Regions from separate parts of the Homo sapiens genome. Here region 1 is linked to region 2. Evidence: promoter capture Hi-C in human tissues and cell types (Jung and others, 2019). All regions are on one chromosome and are shown on one strand. The core of a region is centred on a gene start or on the middle of the fragment in contact, and the rest is flanking DNA. Distances in the headings are between cores, read along the strand shown. Region 1 has its middle 94 kb from the start of NEBL-AS1. Region 2 holds the start of SKIDA1 (SKI/DACH domain containing 1).

The links. Contacts are between HindIII fragments. The study calls those that stand out against the background at their distance.
Region 1: a fragment that was not itself captured here is called in contact with the fragment with the promoter of SKIDA1 in region 2 in 1 of the 25 tissues and cell types used here (dorsolateral prefrontal cortex).

The regions. Positions count from the first base shown.
Region 1 is chr10:21,077,866-21,082,607 of GRCh38, reverse strand. It overlaps a transcript of NEBL not described here. Among named protein-coding and RNA genes, the nearest start is that of NEBL-AS1, 94 kb to the left of the region's middle. The HindIII fragment of the contact is 3,820 bases long and covers 1,080-4,742 here.
Region 2 is chr10:21,523,695-21,528,858 of GRCh38, reverse strand. SKIDA1 (SKI/DACH domain containing 1) reads left to right here and starts at 3,177. Exons shown (of 4, transcript NM_207371.4): 1 at 3,177-3,312; 2 at 4,988-5,164. RefSeq lists silencers at 1,240-1,398, 1,258-1,577, 1,588-1,707, 2,153-2,302, 2,423-2,842 and enhancers at 2,498-3,141, 3,142-3,785. The HindIII fragment of the contact is 2,515 bases long and covers 1,843-4,357 here.

The DNA of each region.
Region 1 (4,742 bases), core at 1,740-4,239, 450 kb after region 2:
CTGAGTTGGACCATTTATTCCACTCTCTCTACACAGTCTTAATTTTTTTTTTTTTTTTTTTTTTTTTTTTTTAGTGGTGGTGGGGAACACTTCAAACTTACAAAAAATTTTCAGTACACTACAAAGAACATTTTTATTCCTGAAATCACTTGAAAGTAAGTTGCCAGAATGATGTTTCCTCATTGCCAAATATTTTAGTGTGTATTTCTCACAAACAAGGCATTCTCTTACATAACCACATTCTAACCATCCAAATCAGAACACTAATATTTATTTATCACTGTGATCTAATCCTCAGACCCCATTAAAGTTTTGCCACTTGCCCAAATAAATATTCTTTATTGCAAAAGGATCCAATCTAGAATGATGCCTTGTACTCAATCATCATGTTCCTTCAGTTTCCACTAACCTGCAAGAGTTCCTTCGTTGCTTGGTGACTTTCACGACTCTTTTGAAGCCCAGTTAAGTTCCTCAGTTTCGGTTTGGGTGATGTTTCTTCATGGTTATATTCAGGTTAGGCATGGTTGGCAGGGATTTCATGAAAGGGGTGCTATGTTCTTTTCATGGTATCCTATCAGGTGGCACCAAACCTGGTGATGTTCACTTTCATCATTTGATGAAGGTAATTGACATGATGTATCCTGGACCTCATCAAACTTTTAATTTGCTCATGTATTTTTATTTTTATTGGTATAGACTTCAATTTCATATTTTATTCAATGGGTTATAATCCATCACTATCATGATTTATTTCTATCCTTAAGTTGTTCCACACCTGGCCCATGGGAGCCCTTATGAGCAAGTTTCCAGGTCCTTATGACACAATTCCATCATTCTTTGGGTACATCCTTACTTTCTGGCACAGTAGAGATGTTCCAGACTTATCTTATATTTTTCCTCCCCCATCCCTGGAATCAATCACTTCTCCGAGGATGCTTGATTCCTTTTAGTGAAGAACAGTCTTTGGAAACCAACCGTCTAGGGACATTAAGTATGCTTGTTGCTATTGGAGTGTCATTGCTCCTGGACCTTCTCAGTGGACACAGCTAGGAAATGTATGTGTTTATATGTGTGTGTTAAATATCAATTTCTTTATCTATTATAGGTACTATTAAAAATGAGTTCCCACCAATATCTCCACCTTCAGTTTTCCCACTAGGAGCCATGATGAGAAACCTGGCTCCTGGTTTTTTCTATGTGTTTACTTATTTGATCAACCCTCCTGTGCATAACAAGCCTCACATCCCCATGGCTGACTGCCTTTCCCCTGCTTCCCATGAAAGCCTTTGTCATCCTGTGCCAGCTGCTGGAGCTCCCCACAACTCAAATGGTGGCCCCATTGATTTTAGGCCAGCTTAGAAAAACACAGTGGAAAATTTTTGCATCATTTGATTATCAAGTCATGATTGCAGTTTGTTGGGGTTGGAATGTGACTATTAAATAATACCAGATCAGCCAGGTGTGGTGGCTCATGCCTGTATTCCCAGCACTTTGGGAGGTCGAGGTGGGTGGATCACTTGAGGTCAGGAGTTCGAGACCAGCCTGGCCAACATGGTGAAATACTGTTTGTACTAAAAATACAAAAATTAGCTAGGCGTGGTGGTGCATGCCTGTAGACCCAGCTACTTGGGAGGCTGAGGCAGGAGAATGGCTTGAACCCAGGAGGCAGAGGTTAACAGTGAGCTGAGATTGTGCCATCACACTCCAGCCTGGGCGAGAGTGATACTCCATCTCAAAAAACAAAAAACAAACAAACAAAAAAACCAGATCACATTTTAAAAATGACACCTACCAGAATATCAATATCTGAATAAGCCAGAATTAGCACTGTTGGGAGGGTATATAATCATTCCATCAAAGTTGCATTTACTCAAACAGGTTGGACACCTCCTTCTAGATCTGTTTTTAGAACCACTTTCCAAGCCCAATCCAGAAACCCAGCCTTGCTTCTTTTCCATTGTAGTCCTAGTTAAAAGCAACCAGAGCTGCATAAATCTCTGTGGGAAAATTATTTTTATTACAATGATTTATGTATATGCTTATCTTCCCCTCTAGTCTGTGAGACCCTAAGATCCAAGGCTAACTTCATATTGTACAGCATCCAACAGAATAGTTGTTGAATTATTCAATGAATGAATCTTGTCTTTGATTCAATTTTCTCCAGCTTATATGCCAGAGTTAGTCCCAAATGACTCAGCTGTTCCCAAAAATGAAATTCGCCCTCAAAGTATGAATATTTACCACAATTGAGAAGAGTCAAAAATATATGTCTCATGCACGGAATGCAATATCAAAAGAGGAATTTTCACAGAGTTTTGAGCAGTCTCAAGATCACAGAATATGGATATCATATCCAAAGTATCTATTTAGAAAGTGATGACATGCTTTTGTTGTATCTATGTGTTGTGCTGTTAAGAAATCGCTTTCATTACTTTATGGTCAGCCATATTTTATATGCATTATAAATTATGTGCTTATTACAAAATCACAGCCACCAGAACCGTCTCTCTATGCTTTACAGTTCACCTGTGAAGATTTATGTTCTGAGTTAGCTGAGACATCATAGAATTCTCTTCTTACCAGGAAAGGATCATAATACATGCTGTTCAAAGCAATAGCGTAAGACTTATTGATATACAGTATCTATACTCCGCCCCTCTCTGAGGATTCTATATTGGTCATTGTTCAAGGCTTCTAGTGATTTTCTTTTATTATATGAAAAAGGAGAGTTCAATGTAGGACAGAGGTGGAGCTACCTTGGGTGGTGGGGCAGAGTACAAAGAACAAATAATGATCTTATATGTCTGTGCACGTCCTTCCTCCAAATGTTTCTATAACTGCGATCTTTTGAAAATTAACAGCCTTGGCCATCTCAAAGGAGGAAAAATAAATAAAGGAATATGCAGCTCAATCTGTGTGTTTACGGGGCAGATAGGTGAAGATGAGAACCATAGATCTTATTGAGAGGGAAGCTGCCCACTTTTGTCCTTCTATTTGGGTGAGAAGTTGTTGAGCCTCCCTATGTTTATACTGGGAGCCCTATTTTTATAAAGCCCTCTGAAGGCTGTGTGGTGTTGCCAACTTGGAGAAAAGGTTGAAGCTCCAGTCCTGGATCCACAAATTCTGTGTGCCCACTCTTGAGCAAGTTACTTAAGCCCTGTGAGCCTGAGTTTTCTCACTTCCAAAACAAGGTCCTCACACAGGTGTGCTGGGAGGTTTAGATGAAAGCACCTGCCAAATAAATCACAGAAATGAGAGCCTACCAAAGATTTGTGCTCCCTGCATTTTATCTTGTATTTTTTTAAAATCTCAAGATGGTGGTACTACTGCCTCTTCACCTCCTCATTTTCTTTCTTTTTCTGGTCTTGCCCTGTTATCCCCTCCACCAGGATGCACCCAGGACACTTTCCCAGATTTGCCATGTCCCATGGGAGGCTCTGGCTATAGTTAATAGAGAAGGTTTCCGAGAGAGAGAGGCTGAGACAGACACCTGGAAGGAAAGGTTGGATATCTCCTTTGGAGGAAAAGCTAGGGAAAGTCCTAAGAGGAGGGCATTTGCTGTGCCATTTGTCATTTAGATCTGGAGGTGGTAGAAATACAGACATTCTGATGTTTCTATAAAGGCTGTCAGGGCTTAATGAAGTTCTTCATGGGGCAGGAGCCGCACGTGCTTATTAAGGTTGGATCAGTGGATACACTCATCCCCTGGATCTGGGAGCAAACTGGAATCAACAGTGCCACCAAGTGGCAGCCAGCTAATAAGCAAGTTGAAACACTAAGACTGCAACTTCTAGTGCTTTGCCCAAATATCTCTGTCTCTTACTCTTTTTCTTTCTAAAAATAAGATCAAGTATATTTTCCTAGGGTGGATATAGAGAGAATGATCTTGTAGACATACCTTCTTCTGGCATGTTGTAGAGCTTGGATACATGATTTTTCTTTATTAAACAATCAAAACCTTTAAAGTCCCACTCAAATGAGCAGGTCATAGGAGTAGATACCTCTGCATACGTGTATACAGGTCATTTATAAAAACTGAGGGATGGGGGCTGTGTGTGTTGGGATTCAAGAAGATTTCCAAAGTGTATTAACCAGGAGTGAAACTCAGGATGACAAATACTGTACACGATGGCAAACAGCATAGACAACATACACGACTCTATTTAGGAGAGGAAACCATTTATATTATTACAGTCTGTAACCTTTTTGTTTTTTATTTAGAGTATTTCTTTTTCTGATCATAAAAGTGTTCGTTGTAATAATTTGAAAGGCTTATTACTTTAAAAAGAATACATTCTACTGGCTGTTAAACACCTTGTAAATAACACAAAATACCAAGATTTTTAGGATACAGAAAAATCCATTTCATTCTGGTCCATTTGTTTGTCATTAGAAAGAGTCTATTTTGTACTCATGCTGCTGTGTTCATTTTAGGACTAATTTGAGGTAAGCTTCCAGCTTTGATTGTTGCTTTCCCCATTATTTTTATTTTCGATCCCCCATAGAATGCATTTCCATCTTCCAATCTCCTCCTCCCGTCCATTCTGCACACAACCCAGCTTTCAGAATAATCTGGTATTGAGAGTCAATCCGTGCTCTGGAAGGTGTCTCAGTGTCCCTGTGACAGCCAGCTCTGCAGTATCCATCGGACTTGATATGGTGGCTCTTGTAGTGTTGCTTTTCTAAGAGCTAAAGTACTTTCTCGTGGTCATGAATAGTGTGGGAAGCCCATAGCTCGGGCT
Region 2 (5,164 bases), core at 1,928-4,427:
GACTCCTAAGAATCTTTTTACTTTAAATGAAACAAAAAATATCTGAAACAGTGAATGATGTAAAACGATTCACCTTCTACTATCAACTACATAACAGATAATCATGTAAAGCTATTCTAAATATTCAAAGACAAACAAAAAATGTAAATTGATGGGGGGAACTGTGGGAGGATGAGTGTGGAACGAATGAATAGATTGAAAATACTTGATTTTCAACAGCGATTTTTTTTTCTGTTCAAACCTTTCCATAGTTACGCCTCAAATGATATCTTACATAAGAATTTCTCCCTATATCTCGAAATAACTGAATGATTTCCATGAGGAAATGCAAGTTTAGAAAGAAGACCCGCAAAATGAAAGTGTTAAAATGCAAGCAACTTCTACAGCATTTCAAATGCAAAAATACAACAATCACTACCTTTAACTGACTCTTAAGGGGTCTTTTCAAACAGATGCTATTTATGAGCATCATCTGTTAACTCCTTTCTTGTAATTCAAAACTCTGTCAAATGATGTTTTCATGATGACGTGTAAATATAATATTCCATTAAAGATCAATTCTAATTGGTTTTTTAAAATCTACCTTGGGAAACAGTGCTTCATAACACACAGACTACTAATGAGTATTTTAGAAGGAATTTCCGCAAAGTCTATCATAAACCTAAGTCGAAATTACTCTCTTGCCCTAGTAAGGTTTGGACCACAGGATTGAAATTATTTTTTCTTGGCCTTTCACGCACGATGACTTTGGTCTTGTCGACAAGACTCGCAAGCACTTGTTGGAAATCTTCATTTAAAAAAAAACAACTGTGACGTTGGCCAGAAATATTTCTTCCATATGCCTCACAAAGGAAAACAGACAGAGTTTATTAAGTGGATTGCAATTATTTGTTTCCAAAACGTGGCTTAAAAGCAAATTAAACGTTTTTCCCTTTTGAAATTCCCTATTTTGAAAACGCACTTCACGTTAAAGGAAGCCCGTTTTTGAAAGGGCTAGCTCAGCCTTTCCTTTTAAAACTAGACTTTCTGTGTACAAAGAAGAGCTGAGTAATCAGTAATAAGGATAGCGAAACGTGCTTTTCCGAATTCCTTTGAACCTTTTTTTAAATGGATTTTTGAATCCATACTTTTCAAGATATTTCAAATATTATATAATCTACTGTAACTTTCCGGATCCAGAATAATAACTGCCCACGGGTGTCTCTTATCTATTTATCACTTTATAAACATATCTATGTTGCTTTCCCTTTTTCTCATAACGTGTGCGTTGCAGGCTCGCCCGGCTTCCTTCAATTTCGCAGCACGCTGTAAAGGCTCCTTCCTCCGAGGTCTTCAGCTGGGAACCCCTCGCTGGCTGAGTCTGACCATCAAAACTTGCCGCGCCGGCCCGACCCGACCCGGCCGGAGCTCAGGAGCCCGGGGAGGCGCCGACGGGGGTCGGGTTGGCCCGCGGGGCCCCTCCCTCGGTCAGGACGTGCTCGGCTAACAGCGGTGCTAGGGCAGAACAATGGGGGCGGCCCGGCGGGCGCGAGGAGCCAGGTCCCGCTTCCTCCGGCGCGCCGGCCCCGCGCCCGGCCCCCGCCCCCCGAGGCCTTCCCCGCCTGCCTCTTCGCGCTCGCCAGTCCCGCCGCGCCTTCCTCCAGCTGCCCGGCCCGGCGCACGCCCCGCCGCCCGCACGCCTTCTTCCCCGCCCGGACCTAGCGGGCCCTCCTTCCCCCGATTCCAACCCACTGCGCTTCCTCCCAAGACTCCAGCTTCTTCCCCTCAGCCGCCGCCTTCGCGCCCTTTTCTGAATGTATTTTTACAATTTCCCCCTTCATTTCCAAAAGTGGCTGAGAAGTCTCGCTTCCATCTTAATGTTGATTTGCTATTTCCCTCCGGAAAAGATTTCCTCAGGAAACCCCAAATCTAGAAGGAAATACAGCAAACCCTAGAACGCTTTTAACCCTTAAGACATCTTGTATTAAAAGAAAAAAAAAGCATGTATGTCTTAAAACCGGCCAAAGAACCATCTCCTCGCTCTTTATTTCCTCCTGTAAATGCTATTATTTTAAACTCTCCATTTTAAACTCGTCCTTCGGACGAGAGGGCAGAGAATGTGCCCGGCAGCACGCAGCAAATCAGAGGTTTTATCTTACGCCTCCTGGGACTGGGAAAAAAAGTGGAACGTGGCCGAGGGAGCTTCCAGGGCAGAAAAGCGACACAATTCGCTGGGGACGCCGCTGGGCCAGGCCAGGCGGGGGAGGCGCGGCGGGGGCGTCGAGGGCTCTCGGGCTCCGGGCCGGGGCGCCGCTGCGAGGAGGGGAGGCGGTTTTAAGTCATGGGGGCTGGGAGGGCGGCGGCGGGTCGGGCGTGACGAGACTTTCGGAGGCAGGATGGGGCGGCGGTGGAGTTGCCTGGGCTTTCTCAGCACCCCCCCCAACACACCCAAATAAAAAAAGGAAAGTTAGAAGGAGGCGGAGAGGAGGACAGCCATCCCCATTTCCTCCCCGCGACGCCGCGGAAGGGCTGGGGCCGCTGCGAGCAGAGAGAGGGCGCGGGATGAGGCGGGCCAATCGCAGTCAACAGGTCCAGGCCTCAGTGGGGCAGCTGAGCCGGGAGGCCGGCGCCCCCTCCCCTCGGCTCCCCGTCCCTCCCCTCCCTCGCAGGCCCGGCGCGGTAGGGGAGGCCCGGCCCGGCCCTCCCCGCCCCGCGCGGACTCGCTGCGGCCGACTCCGCCGGGGCAGTCGGGGTGGGGGTGGGGCGGGGGTTCCCCGCCGGAGAATCCTCCCCCGGGGCTGGCGGCGGGGGCGGGGAGCGAGAGCCGGGAATGGAGGATTAGGAAGGACTCCAGCTCGGCACGAGCGCGGCCCGCGCGAGGGATCCTGGGTAAAAAGTGGCCGCGCGGCACCGGAGAGCGCGGAGAGGAGCCGGGGTCAGGGGTCACGGCCCTGGAGCCCCGCGTGCAGAGCCCCCCACGTGAACGCAGCGAGCAGGAGGAACCTTTTTGTTTTCGACCGCGCCAGCATGCTCCCCTATTGACCGAGCTGCTTTTCCTGGGCTGCTGGGGAGAGGAGCTCCATTGCGGAGCTCTTAACCCCACCCCCACCTTCCACCGCCAACACACTTCCCAACTCAACCCTTCCTCTCAACTCTCATCCCAGCCCCCCGTCCTGAGCTTGCAATAACGCAGTAAATTTGCTTTAACAACAAGTGGGGGTGGTTGAATTTACTCCTCCCTCTCCTCTCTCCTCCCCTTCCTCTTGCTGCGGTTCTTGACACTACTACAAACCAGGACTATAAACATAAACATGTGTCACTGTAACAGGGCAGGTAATATACGGATTTTGAGGCGGGGTGGGGTGGAGCGGGGCTTGGTCGCCGCTTGGAGGGCAGTAAAAAGTCGCGTTTCACGTGCTCGACGGCTTTGGGGACTCCCGCACACATCGATCCGTTTATATAATGCCGAAGGCACTTGGTCACTTATTCAGCCACGCAGACCCACAAAGCCAGACTTGCGGATAACCAGCGTACCCCAAAGCAAATGCATTTCAATACGAATCCCTCTCCTTTCCCAGCCAGTGCTGCCATTTCTTCTATTAGCAAACAGTAACGTGATACTTGAATCCCCTTTCCTTTTTAAAAATTCTTTTCCAGATAGCCATGAGATCATTTTTCGACCTAAATAGTACATCTCTCCCATAGCCACTACCTACACATTTTGTGCGCAGAAACCCCTTCAAACAGCAAGAAAGTCTATTTAAATGACTGAGTTCGAAATCTGGTGTGCAAAGGGTATTTCTTGGGCTTTGCCTCCGTGCATTGAGCAACTTCTGCTGCAAGTTGCTGACACTGGCGCGGTGGAGATCCGCCACAGCAAGCCTTTTTTATTATTATTTAGTCTATATCTGCCTCTCAACTTTTTTCTCATTCTTAGTTCAACAAGCCAGCAACCACTACTTAAGGTAGAGTAAAGCGAATCCCTTCCCAAGCTTTTTGGCTTGAAACGGAGGGAGATACAGAAAATGTTCAGATGGGGAAGTGGTTCCCTTTGTTCTTTCATTGTTTCTCTACGAACTGGTGGATACAAGGACAAACACTTACCTTCTCTTCTTTTTGCTCCACAAACCAGACGTTCCCATCAGCCTTAAAATACACAATCCACCTTGAAAGTAACTACGGATGTCGGGAGAGTTTGTATTCCATTCTTTTTCGCTCTCTGCCCTCTTTTAGCGTAGGATTAAGTTGCAGAGCACGTTGCTGCAAGCTGTAGCCCCCCCCCCCCCCCGCCTTAGTGAATCGGTCACGTTTAGGACCCTCTAAGTCCATCCTAATTCTGCCAGTAGAATTGAGGGTATTGGAGCTCTAAACTTTCAAAAGGAAAGGGGCCTGCAACTCTCCAGAAAACTTACAAATACCCCGAAATTTTTTACCATTGTGTTTTTGCACCACATCACCAAATAGTATTTGCCAAGAAATAATAGATATGTCTTTGAGAAAAAAAAATTTTTTTAAGTTTATACTTAGCAATGCGCTGCTTAGACAGATGTAGTAAAAGGCAGGTTTGTATCGGCATTTAACGGAATGAGTGCGTTTTCCATAACGTTTGTTGTGCCATGTGTTTTTTTAAAACACAAACAAAACACTACCCCAACTGAGAAAGGAAATAGAAGTTTGAATTAAAATGTTGTGGAACAACTTTAAAAGAGACGTTTACTTGAAATTTATTAGTGTAAAAATTGGCCTCAGAAGTGAAAAGTAAGCTTTTCAAAGTTAAAAGACTTAATTTTCACCCTATGATTCCATAACAAAAAAGCGAATTTTCTGGTTAATATGTGATACTGTCAGTGTTGAGTGTCCAGTCTTTTGGGTCTTAGTGTCCAAACCTTGCTCAAATCTGATTATGATGTGATTTGCTGATGTCATGAATATGAAATGATACTTGTGTATCCATAAATTCGAACTTGTGATTTTTTTTTTTTTTTTTTTATCTCCCGCTTTTTTGTAGGTTCCCAGTAGCTGCAGCAGTGAAAGACAGTGATTGGCTCCAGTGCTCCCAGAAGGATTTGGGCTGAAGCCAGGGGAACAGAACCAGAAGAGGATTCCCTTTCCAGAGACCATCAGGCTCCTCATGTCTTGTCTCTCCTCTCTCCCCTCGTGGTGGCTCAGGATTTCAGTATGGCTG